2 separate regions of the Homo sapiens genome follow, and region 1 is linked to region 2. Evidence: promoter capture Hi-C in 16 types of primary human blood cells and fetal thymus (Javierre and others, 2016). All regions are on one chromosome and are shown on one strand. The core of a region is centred on a gene start or on the middle of the fragment in contact, and the rest is flanking DNA. Distances in the headings are between cores, read along the strand shown. Region 1 overlaps ZNF142 (zinc finger protein 142). Region 2 holds the start of USP37 (ubiquitin specific peptidase 37).

What was found. The method cuts DNA at HindIII sites, captures the fragments that hold promoters and counts their contacts. A CHiCAGO score of 5 or more calls a contact.
Region 1: a contact is called between a fragment that was not itself captured here and the fragment with the promoter of USP37 in region 2, in 1 of 17 cell types (endothelial precursors). The highest score is 7.3, in endothelial precursors.

The regions. Positions count from the first base shown.
Region 1 is chr2:218,634,870-218,640,834 of GRCh38, reverse strand. It overlaps ZNF142 (zinc finger protein 142), which reads left to right. Exons shown (of 11, transcript NM_001379659.1): 10 at 66-171; 11 at 2,027-5,965. The coding sequence ends at 2,496. PLCD4 (phospholipase C delta 4) reads right to left here. Exons shown (of 16, transcript NM_032726.4): 14 at 4,904-5,039; 15 at 4,443-4,592; 16 at 3,660-4,364. The coding sequence ends at 4,258. Among named protein-coding and RNA genes, the nearest start is that of ZNF142, 22 kb to the left of the region's middle. The HindIII fragment of the contact is 3,761 bases long and covers 400-4,160 here.
Region 2 is chr2:218,563,875-218,570,114 of GRCh38, reverse strand. It overlaps USP37 (ubiquitin specific peptidase 37), which reads left to right and starts at 1,764. Exons shown (of 26, transcript NM_020935.3): 1 at 1,764-1,937. It overlaps CNOT9 (CCR4-NOT transcription complex subunit 9), which reads right to left and starts at 1,276. Exons shown (of 8, transcript NM_005444.3): 1 at 1,137-1,276. The coding sequence starts at 1,160. RefSeq lists enhancers at 682-871, 666-1,293, 1,294-1,921 and silencers at 1,582-1,641, 1,732-1,801. The HindIII fragment of the contact is 2,574 bases long and covers 439-3,012 here.

The sequences.
Region 1 (5,965 bases), core at 1,031-3,530, 70 kb before region 2:
TAATAACAGCTAACATTTATTGAGCACTTACTATATTTTCTGCTTTTTGCTCTTGCCTCTTCCAGTACCACATGCGGATCCACAAGGAGGAACGGAAGTACCTGTGCCCTGAGTGTGGCTACAAGTGCAAGTGGGTCAACCAGCTGAAATACCACATGACCAAGCATACAGGTGAGTCTGTGTGGTTTCGACAGGCCTGAAGGGTTCCTTTGTTCCCTGGCAAACCTAACCTTACCAAGGTTGGTCCTTGTTCCAATTCAGGGCCAACATCAATTTCACATTGGGAGTAGACAGCAGGGTGGGGTTGTATGTGCCAGAATGGCTCCCCAACCCACTGAAGACCTGTCAGAATCAGAAGGGTAAACCTGAGAGCCTGGGCATATGTACTTTCCAAAAGCTTCCCAGGTGACTGTGTTACGAAGTCAGTCATTTTTCCCCTCTTGAGAACCCCCAACTCAAACTTGTATGACTAAGGGCAGATTTGCTTGGCTCTTACACAGACATGATGGAACTATCATGAGTTAAAAAGGAGAAAGTGAAGGATTCTCCTGTTCTAGTCTGTCCTTTTCTTCTCCTGGGTGTGGATGGAATCCACAAACCCGGTTCTTGAAAGCACACAATCGTGTGCCTGTGCTTATTGCATCTGATCCCCCTATGTGGAGGAATTGATTAGGAGCATTTCAAGGCCCTCTGCTTTTATGAATGCCACTTATTTCACCTCTACCTCTTCCCTCCTAAGTATTTCTTTTTTTTTTTTTTTTTTTTTTTTTTTTGAGACAGAGTCTCGCTCTGTTGCCCAGCCTGGAGTGCAGTGGCGCAATCTAAGCTCACTGCAAGTTCTGCCTCTGCCTTCCGGGTTCACACCATTCTCCTGCCTTAGCCTCCCGAGTAGCTGGGACTACAGGCACCCGCCACCACGCCCGGCTAAGTTTTTGTATTTTTAGTAGAGATGGGGGTTTCACCGTGTTAGCCAGAATGGTCTCAATCTCCTGACCTCATGATCCGCCCGCCTCGGCCTCCCAAAGTGCTGGGATTACAGGCATGAGCCACCATGCTCGGCCCCTCCTAAGTATTTCTTTTACTTTTTTTTTTTTTTTTTTTCAGTGACAGGGTCTTGCTCTGCTGCCCATGCTGGAGTGCAGTGGTGCAGTCATAGCTCACTACAATCTCAAACTCCTGGGTGCACATCATCTTCTTGCCTTAGCCTCCCAATTAGCTGGGTCTACAAGTGCACGCCACCACGCCCACCTAATTTTTTTGTAGACAGGGTCTCACTTTGTTGCCCAGGCTGGGTCTTTGACTTTTTGAGTTGAACAAGCCGTTGTGTTTAAATGAATTGTCGAATTCCATGAGTACTCTGTGACCAAAAGAGGGTTATAATTTCCCATGGGGAAACCCTTCCATATTTGAGTATTCATTACTGTCAGGTAGCTAGTTGGTTAGAGGTCCCGTTAATCATCAGCATCCATTGGGCACCCACAACATTGATTGCTGGGACTACAACATTGAGTTCTTGTTGATGTACAAGGACGCTGTGTTGGAAAGGCACAGAAATGTCAGACAGGGCCAGGCGCGGTGGCTCATGCCTGTAATCCCAGCACTTTGGGAGGCCAAGGAGGGCACATCACTGGAGGTCCAGAGTTCAAGACCAGCCTGGCCAACATGGTGAAACCCTGTCTTCACTAAAAATACAAAATTAGCCAGGTGTGGTGGCCCATGCCTGTTATTCCAGCTACTTGGGAAACTGAGGCAGGAGGATCACTTGAACCTGGGAGGCGGAGGTTGTAGTGAGCCGAGATTGCACCATTGCACTCCAGCCTGGGCAACAAGAGCGAAACTCCGTCTCAAAGAAAAATAAAAGAAAAAAGAAATGTCAGACAGGACTGGAGGACTGGAGCATTCCAAAGAGATGGTCATTAGTCAACTTGCTGCTTGCATTCTTTATATCCACTGATTGCAGTAACTCCATGGCCCAGTAAACCTTGCTCCACCGCCTTTCAATGGTGATTTGTTCCCTGTCCTGTAGGACTGAAGCCATACCAGTGTCCCGAGTGTGAGTACTGCACCAACCGGGCTGATGCACTGCGTGTGCACCAGGAGACCCGGCATCGAGAAGCACGGGCTTTCATGTGTGAGCAGTGTGGCAAGGCCTTCAAGACGCGCTTCCTGCTGCGCACCCACCTTCGCAAGCACAGTGAGGCCAAACCCTATGTGTGCAATGTGTGCCACCGTGCTTTCCGCTGGGCTGCTGGCCTGCGCCATCATGCCCTCACCCACACCGACCGCCACCCCTTCTTTTGCCGCCTCTGCAACTACAAGGCCAAGCAAAAGTTCCAGGTGGTCAAGCACGTACGCAGGCACCACCCTGACCAAGCCGACCCAAACCAGGGTGTGGGCAAAGACCCCACCACCCCCACAGTGCACCTGCATGATGTGCAGCTGGAGGATCCCAGCCCTCCTGCTCCTGCCGCTCCCCACACTGGACCTGAGGGCTGAAAGCCTGCCCCACCTCCTGTATAGGAAGAGGGTATGGTCTGAGATGTGCAGACTGGGACCAGCGCTAGCCTGAGGAGCTCAGAGCCTAAGGAAAGACTGGCTTTTGGGGTACAAGGGTGACTAGAACCTTCCTGGGACTCTGGCTATAGTACTTTGAAATTATCACCCATATAAAAGAGGGACATGGACTATAACGTTGATTTCTTATTGCTGTACATTGCGTTTTTAACCTGCAAGTTCTCAGTTTCTTCACCATCACTCCATCAAAGTCCCTGGCTATAAGATCTGGATTTTACCCACTCCATCTTCTCTTTCCTTCTTACTGTGTCAATTCCTATTTTCTTTCAGAATCTTCTAAAAACAGTTGTATCTAACCGCATGTGCTGTTGTGCCTAATGCTCTATAAAGCATGTTAAACAGAAAGTGGTTACTACATTATAGATTCATCCAAATCCCTGTCTTAACATTTCCAGGCTGTCATCTTGATCAACTCTGTCCCCTCTCAGACCTCTGCCTCCCTTTTGTCCCTTCCATCTTCACTCAGTATTGATACTGAAACAGGCCTAGGTCTGCCTTCTCCCTGTCCTTGAGCCATCTTGACCCTTGACCTGCTCCCTACTTCCAAGCTCCTTTGTCTACCTGTATCTATAGAGGGAGGATTGCTACCCACTAAGCCTCCTCCTAGAAGCAACTTTAGCTCATCATCAATCCTCAGACTGGCTCAGCAGCTACACTAAGGTGTTAAAGCACAAGGATACTATGGAAAGGCAGATGACTAGAGAGGAAAATCTCCAATTCAGAATTCTATAACTGCTTCACAGTATAATTCTGTAGTGCCTTACTATATAATTGATCATCTAAACTGAGACACACTGGGAAAACTTAAAGAGGGTACTATTAATAATTATGCTGGGACAACAGACATAAACCAGGATGGTTCCAGCCAGACTCTTCAGGAAGGCTGGGACCACATAACCTTTTGTCTGCTTTTGCCCTGATTCTTAAAAGCCATACTCTGTGTCCTTCCTATGTAGCACATGCAAGAGGTCTCCTGGGAACCTCTTTCTCTACCTTTTCCTTGTCTCACCTGACTACCCAGATGTCCCCACAACCCTTGTACCTCCCCTTCTTGCCCAACAATGACAGACCATATTGAAGCCAAATTGGAGAGAGATGTATTTATACCAGTGGGGCTAAGGAGGAAGCAGTCCAGTGGGGGACTTTGAGTGCTGTGCAGTGTTCTCTTAAGAGTCGTAGTACAGTCCTGGGGTCAAGTCTCTTTCCCTAATCTTTGCTGGGGAAGCCTTGAGCCTTGATTTATCCTTCCCTTGGCTTTGGGCTTTGAGGAAGTTGGGGATGGAGGGGATGATGCTTCTTTAGGTTTCTCTATTCCAAGCCCCTCTGAATTTCTAGTTGCAACCTGCCTTCACACAGAGTTGATGGGAAAGATTAGTTGTAGATGTCGGTATGGGATTGAGCCTACAGCAAGAGGAAGAAGGGAACTCCAGTATAGAGTACACAAAGGAAAAGGGCAGGAAAGATACCAAAGGCTTATGAAAACAAAGGAAGGGAAGAAAAGAGAAAAAAGGTGGAAAATCAGGTCCCAGATTGCTTGTTAGGAAGAATGAGGTAATTTTGTGCCTAGGAATGCACAATCCAAAGCTTGATTTTCACCACCTCCATTTGTTCTCTCGAGCATCCTTCCAGATGTTTCTCCCCGTCTAAAGCCAGCACACCAACCCTTCCCGTGAAATGCCCACCTCAGGACTCATCCCCCTCCAGGCCTTCCTGGATGCAGATATACACAAAGATGGAAGCTGGGCGGAGGCTGATGCCATCTTTGGACAGCAGGTGAATGTGGCGGTAACCTGGAAGGGGCAGGAGGACAGCATTAGGAAGGCAGCCAGAGCTGGGGTATTGGCCAGGGGCCAAAGGGGCTGGCTCACCTTGTTGCATGCAGGTCCAAGGCAGGGTGTACTGACCAATAAAGTCATTTCGGGATTTCCAGTCATAATCCATTACCACAAAACGCAGCATGGCAAGTTCAGGCACCAGCACCCGGAAACATAGTGTCTGCCCCCAGTATGGATTAAAACCTGAGTTGGTGGACAGAAAGAAATAAGAAGACATTATGACAGTTTTCTTGACTGGGTTGCTTTTCTTGTGTTCTCATTTAATCTAGATGGCAATCAGCATTTTACAGGTAAGGAAAAAGGCTCAGAGTAAGCAAGTAATTTGCCCAGGTCACTGGAGCTTTTAAGTGAAGAGCCAGGATTCTTTGTACTGTTCCACACTGCCTCCCATGTGGGGACATGCAATAACAGATGCTATACTTAATGGAAGACAGACTAGAAGGAAAACTAATCATGCTCCTACCCCCACCTCCCCAGCACTGCCAGTTTCTCACCATTGTTCTCCACATAGTTGGTCTCCTGCCGTGCTGTGTCTAGACGAACGCCAAAGATCTGCACTTTCACCAGTGGATCCACAATGGACCCCTCTTTGGTCTTGTCCACTTTGGGGAGTTGCTGACCGCTGATCACCTGTAGTCAGGGCTCTGGAATCTCACAAGTTCCTGCTCAGCCCAGCCCCACCCGACCCTACTCCCAACCCCAGGGGAGAAGAAGCTTTTTGGTTTGTAAAACATCCTCCATGGGTAATATATTTTCTTCTAGTATTCTATCTGCAATTTAAAATGCACCCAAAGGCCGGGCACGGTGGCTCACACCTGTAATCCCAACACTTCAGGAGGCCGAGGTGGGCAGATCACTTGAAACCAGGAGACCAGCCTGGCCAACATGGTGAAACCCTATCTCTACTAAAAATACAAAAATTAGCCAGGCATGGTGGCGGGCGCCTGTAGTCCCAGCTACTCGGAAGGCTCAGATGGGAGAATCACTTGAACCCAGGAGGCGGAGGTTGCAGTGAGCCAAGATCATGCCACTGCACTCCAGCCTGCAGCAGAGCAAGACTCTGTCTCAGAATAAACAAATAAATTAAATGGATCCAGGTAGAAATTCAACAGTTTGAAAGTAGGCATGCTAATGACAGCAGCCACTTTTTTTTTTTCAAAGAGACACGATCATACTCTTGACCAAGCTGGAATGCAGTGGGGCAGTCATAGCTCACTGCAACCTCCATCTCCTGGGCTAAAGTGACCCTCCAGCCTTAGCCTCCTGAGTAGCCAGGACTATCTATAGTCATGTGCCACCATGCCAGGCTAATTTTTAAATTTTTTGTAGAGACGGGAGTCTCTACAAAATTTTTAAATTTTTTGTTGAGACCAGTTTCAGACTGGTCTCAAACTCCTGGGCTCAAGCAGTCCTCCTGCCTTGGCCTCCAAAGCGCTGGGATTACAGGTGTAAGCTATCGCTCCCAGCCAGCCTCTTTTATAGCACTTCCTGTGTGCCAGGAATTGTAAGAACTTTATATTAACTGTTATACTCCTTATAACCCTGTGAGGCAGGTG
Region 2 (6,240 bases), core at 515-3,014:
CAAAGTATCTGAGTCTTTAATCTTGTACTAGGAACTGTCCTGGCACCGGGGAAACCACGTCAACAGGGCTCACATGATCCCTGTCCCTGCCCTCAAGGAGACAGACAACAAATAAACGAATACAATAATTACACGGGGATCAGGGCTGTAAAGGGTACTCTACTAAAGTTAGAGGCTGCGGAACTAATTTGAAGAGGATAGTCAGGGAAGGCCACTCTGAGACCGATTTAGGCAGAGACCTGAAGAAAGATGGATTTGGATAAACAGTTTAAGGAGAGGAAGGAGAGTTCAAGGAAGAGGTACCAATTACACTCATGCTGTGTATGTAAAGGAGGAGGGATAAGAAGAACATTCACTCCAGGCATAGAGACCACAAAGTGCATCTTGGAGAAAAATAAGCGCGTTGCAGAGGGTTAGGTGGCCAGAGTAGCTGAAGCTTTAGGAGCAAGAGACATAAAACGAGATTATAAACGTGGGTTAAGTACCACATCATACAGGGCCGTGCAGGCTATGGCAAGGAGTCTAGATTTTATTTAAATGCCAAGAGAAGTAGGATTACTTCGGATAGCTGAATTACACTATCTTTCTTTTTTGTTAAAAGATCACGCGGGTAAAACGAGATGTGTCGAGGAAAAGTTTTAAATGCAGAGAACCTAAGTCAGATGCAAAAATTATGCACTTTTCCGGGCCTCAGGTTTTCCATAAATAAAGCAAGTGGTTTGAACTAGAAGCCATTTCCTTCCCGCTGCGACGTGGTGAGTTCTAAGAGCAGGGGCCGCGTCAGATTGACCATGGAATTCCCCTCATCGACGCCGGCGCCCAGAACACAACTGGCGCCCTGAAACTGTTGGTCAGCGCAATAAATCAATGAATGGCCTGCTACGGGCGTGGGACCAGGCCCCGGCGCCCGCAAAGAACGCGATGGGTCGCGCTGAAGGCCGCGAGAGGCGTCCGGCAAGGAAATAGGGGCCGGCTCCACCACAACCAAAGCGTGCCGAGGAGGGGAACCGGGGCCTTGGAGATTGAGGGCAGAAAAAAATCAGACTAGGGACCCGACACCGGGAATTAGGAGAGAAGGCCGAAACGTGGGTCTGAGAAAGGATTCTGGTTCCAAGCCTGGGGGCCCAGCCACTCACCGCAGCCGTCGCCAGGCTGTGCATGTTGTGAGCGGCCGCCGCTCTCTTCCACAGCCGGACGCGTCCGACCCGCGTCCCCCCTTCAGCACCCCTGCAGCGGAAAACAATGAGCCGCCGTAGCCGCCATCCGACTCCGGCTCGCTCCGCCCACTTCGCGGCCCTCTGACCTCTCACCCCTGACCCCACCCACACATCCTCTTCCCGCCTCCAGGGCCTAGTTAACAGTCCCAGAGTATGTCCTTTGCCCCTTAAGATTTAGGACCGGAAGGACGTCCGCGACCACTAGTCCCCGCAACTTCTGGCTTTGAGCAGTTATTTCCAGAGAGCGGCGTGAACTCTGACCCTCCTCCAAAAGCCAGTGAACGGCGGGAAAAGATGGACAGTCCCGGCAAGACAACTATTGCGCATGCCCGACTGGGTTGCGTAGGAGGGAAATGGTGGGGGGGCGTCGAAATCGGGTGAGGTGGAAAGTGCGCGTGCCTACTACAGTCACGGCAGGGGCGGGGCTGCCCGGGCTAGGCCGCTCTAGGTACTGGCGGGGCGGGGCGAGGGCGTGTGAGGGGCGGAGTTTTCGACTGACGCGCACGCGCCTGTCTGGTCGCGTCGAGTGTGCGTGCGTGCGTGCGTGTTTGCGTGTGGTCACAGTTCCCGCCATCAGCCGCTCTCCCTGACTAGGGGTAGCTAGCGGCCTCCCTCCTTTGGGTTCGGTATCCCTACTTCCATTACCCTCGGCTCCTCCCACTCCTCGCGGGCTCCGTGCTTTCCGCGGGTCTGTCCGGGGGCTCCGGACCCTCGGCGCAGGTAAGGCGGGCCGGGGTAGCTTCTCAATTGAGCCGTTTTCCCTACCTCCTCCTCCTTCTGTGCGATCCGCCCACTCGGCGTTCACTCCTCTGGAGTTCGCCCTGCTGCTACTCAGCCCGCCCACAACCCCTCGATGCACCCCCAGCCTCACAGGTACTACCTTTGGGTGCACTGCCCCGGCTTCCACCTCTCCTTTGACTTGGTCTCCACTGCCACTCGCTCCCTCCGAAACTCAAACCTGGCCCCTTTTCTCTGGGGCTGTTGTCGTTCGCCTCTTACCTTCTAACAGGGCCTGCTGTCTCTTCAGGTGACTTTCGTTACGGCACATCCACCAGGCCTTGGACATGATACTCATTCACTCTCTTGACCATCTTCACCTTCCTCTTGACCAGTCCTCACTGCAAAACATGAATTGTATTTTTGTTGTGCATTTCCTTGCGCCCATTTCTAGCCGCCAGATCAGGTTGTTAGATGTAACTATTTTAAGTCATGATCCATGAAAGGAAATGATGATTGATGATAAAATCCTGTGTCCTGAAGAGTTGTCCTAAAGTGGTTTTGGGGTATTCCTCTCAAAATTTCAGCTCTGTATAAATTCCTTTATTGAGGTGGCAATTCCTGACAAGTGTCTAACTGGAAGAGATACCTGAGAGGGAATGTCAAGTAGGCAGTTGGATATAGTGGGTTTGGAGATCTTAGGAGAGTTCTGGGCTGCGTACGTAAATGTGCGCGGTGTGTGTATGTGTTTGTCATCTGCCATATTGATAGTAATTGAAGCCATGGATGTGGATGAAATTGCCGAAAAAGAGTATAGTGCTGTAAAATAAAGGCACCTAGGATGGAGCATTGACGAATTCCTGCTGTTTAATAACCAATAGAGGAGGATGCGTCTTGCAAGCCATGAAAAAAGTCATCAGTAGTGTTGCATTCTGCTGAAAGGTAAAATGGAAGGAGGACTGAAAAACCCAGTGATATAAAAGTACTCACTTGTCTTAAAGATGTTTGATGAAGTAAAATGAGTATTTGGGTTCAGTCCTAGGTCCTCTTCTTTTACTCTTATATTCCTCCCTAAGCTTTAAATTTGATCTATATATTGATGACTTAAAAATTGTTATTTCCAGCCTATTCCCTTTGTTTTCAGCTCCACATCTAGATAGCCAGCTGTCTGCTTGACATCTCAACTTGATTTTTTTCTTAGGAGTTTCAGATGCAACACAGCCAAATCCAAAGCCTTGATCTTTCTCTCCATATCGAAATTCTTTCTTCTCCAGTGTCCCAGTTTATTAAGTGGCACATGACACAGGCTACACACTTGGGAGGCATTCTTGACTTCTACTCTCTCCAAGTTCTATCCTACTTCCAATACGTGTCTTGCATCTTTTTCTGTACATTTTCACTGTCACTTTTCTAGTTTAAGCCACAGTCCTTAAAAAACCTGGACTTGATTGCCTTGGCTTCCTGTATTATCATCTGTAAAATGGAAATAGTAATTTTCAGCCTATTGGATTGTTATGAGGATTAAGTGAGATAACCATGATAAGCACTTGGCACAGAGTAAATGGCCAGTAAGCATTAATTGTTATTGTTATAAGCTGATCAACTCAATACTCTTCTATCTGGTTACATTATTTTCTTCTGTTCTTGCTCTTAGTCACTCTCCCAAAACCCAAACCAACCATATATGACTTCCTCATTCAGTAGTAACATATTTCTTTGCTTAAAACCTTTTGGTGGATTTCCTCCTGGTAAGTGCTTGTTACATTTAGGATAAAATTCGGAATCTTTACTGTGGTTCACAAGACTGCATAACCTGGTTCTTGCCTGCTTCACTAACTTCATCTTCCTCCTCTCCTTCACTAAACTGTAGCCACATTGCTTTTAATTTCCCTAGTCATATCAAGTTATTTTACAATTCAAGGCCTTTGGGGATGCTGTTTGCCTGGATTGTTCCAGCACCACCATCTATCAGTCATCTCCTTCTGCAGTTTTCAACTTAAGTGATACCTTCTCAGGGAAGCCTTCTCAATGTTATCCTCTACCCCAAGTCTTAATCTTAAGACTCATCATTCCATGTATCTTGCTTTATATCATTTCTCAGAACTTGTAATTATTGTTATTATTATTTTTTGAGATGGAGTTTTTGCTCTGTTGCCTAAGCTGGAGTACAATGGCATGATCTCAGCTCACTGCAACCTCCGCCCCCTAAATTCAAGCGATTCTCTTGTCTCAGCCTCCCAAGTACCTGGGATTACAGGCACCCGCCACCATGCCCGGCTAATTTTTGTATTTCTAATGGAGACAAGGTTTCACCATGTTGGCCAGGCTGGTCTTGAACTCTTGACCTCAGATGATCCACCTGCCTCGGCCTCCCAAAGTGCTGGGATTACAGGTGTGAGCCACTGCACCCAGCCCAGAACTTGTAATTATATATTTACATGTGTGATTATTTAAAGTCTGTCTCCTATTAGAATATAGGCTAGTGACCACTTCTTTTTTATTTCCCAATAATTTGTTAAATAAGCTGGAAGTTGCTGTAAGAACCATCATGTCTTTTGGAAGCAAAGCTTGCTGATGTTCTTGTCATCATCTCATGACAAACACTTTTCATTCTGAAAAGTTAGAGGACACATGAGAAAAAACAAAACGTTTTCCAACTTTGGATTCTTTTACCCATTTTTATATCATAAAACCATTCAGATTTTAAACTCTTTGAATTGGAGATAAACTTTAGGTCAGCTTTCCACTTTCAGTAACAAAACTAATTTTTTCTCCTTTGTCCATTTGTTTTATAGGTCTTTTTAAAGGAAAGAAAGCCTTCAAAAATCAGAGTAGTGGTTTGTATATTTTAACAACCGGTTAATCTTTAAGACCAGTGAAGATGAGATTTCCATAAATAAAGCAAAATTCCATATTTAAGTCAGTTGTTGGTGAATGACAAAGAAAATATTAATATATGGCCAGCTGCATTGGCTCATGCCAGTAATCCCAGCATTGCGGGAGACCAAGGTGGGCGGATCGCTTGAGCCCCGGAGTTCGATACCAGCCTGGGCAACATGGCAAAACCCCATGTCTATAAAAAATTACAAAAATTAGCCGGGTTTGGTGGCATGTGCCTGTAGTCCTAGCTACTTGGGAGGCTGAGGTGGGAGGATTGCTTCAGCCTAGGAGGTGGAGGTTGCAGTGAGCCAAGATGGCACCACTGTGTTCCAGTCTGGGTGACAGAATGAGGTTCTGTCTCAAATGAAAAAGAAAGAAAATATTAAAATATAATAATTTTTGTATGTGTAGAACAGGATTCGTGTTGAAAAATAGGGAATTTAAAATGGAGGTGTATGAATACCAAACACAAGCATTTGGATTTATTTTATTTTCTAGGTAGTGATGAGCTATTTAGTTTGGGAAGGTCCTAGCATCAATGGCAACCATTTAGCACTTAACAAGTGTTTGTTATTTTGTTGGAGTATACAGTTAGAGTACCCAAGTTCTGTGTGTTACCTCCCTGTCCCGTGCCCCACCTCTACCCCCCACTCCCACCTTAGGGAGAAAGTTAAGAAGATACCTAGTGCATAGTTCAGTTGAAAAGTGGTAAAAAGAGTAGTTCTTTAGAAAGGATGTTACAATGTAAAGGATTTGTTGGAGGTAAAACCCCAAGAGCTGAGACTGGAAAGGGAAGGGGTTGCCATAATTCATTGATGAGGATGAACTGTGGTTGTAGTTAAAAATGTAGGTTCTGGCATTAGACATAGCTTTGTTTCTCACTGACTGTATTTATAAATTATGTAATGTCTCTAAACCTCAGTTTCCTCATCTGTGAAATAGAGATAATATCCCTATCACTTAGGATTATTTTAAAAATTAAATTGAGATAATGCATGTATGGCATTTAGCACTGCTTAGTAAATGTTGCATAATAAATGTTGGGTTGCATAATAAATACTAGGTGGGATGATGGCATAGTGATGAGTTTCTGAGAGTAGTAGCTATTGAAAATCTGGGATTTGAGTAGATAAGAGTGAGGATAAAGCTGATGCCAAGATTTCTTGCCTGAATGATGGTAGAAGGACAAAAGTAGGGAAGTCTGGGAGCTTCTTTTTTTTTCTTTCTTTTGAGACGGAGTCTTGCTCCCTCACCCAGGCTGGAGTGTAGTGGTGTGATCTCTGCTCCCTGCAACCTTTGCCTCCCAGGTTCAAATGACTCTCCTGCCTCAGCCTTCCAAGTAGCTGGAACTACAGGTGTGTGCCACCACACCCAGCTAAATTTTGTATTTTTAGTGAGAACACATTGTGGTCTCAATGTGTTCGAG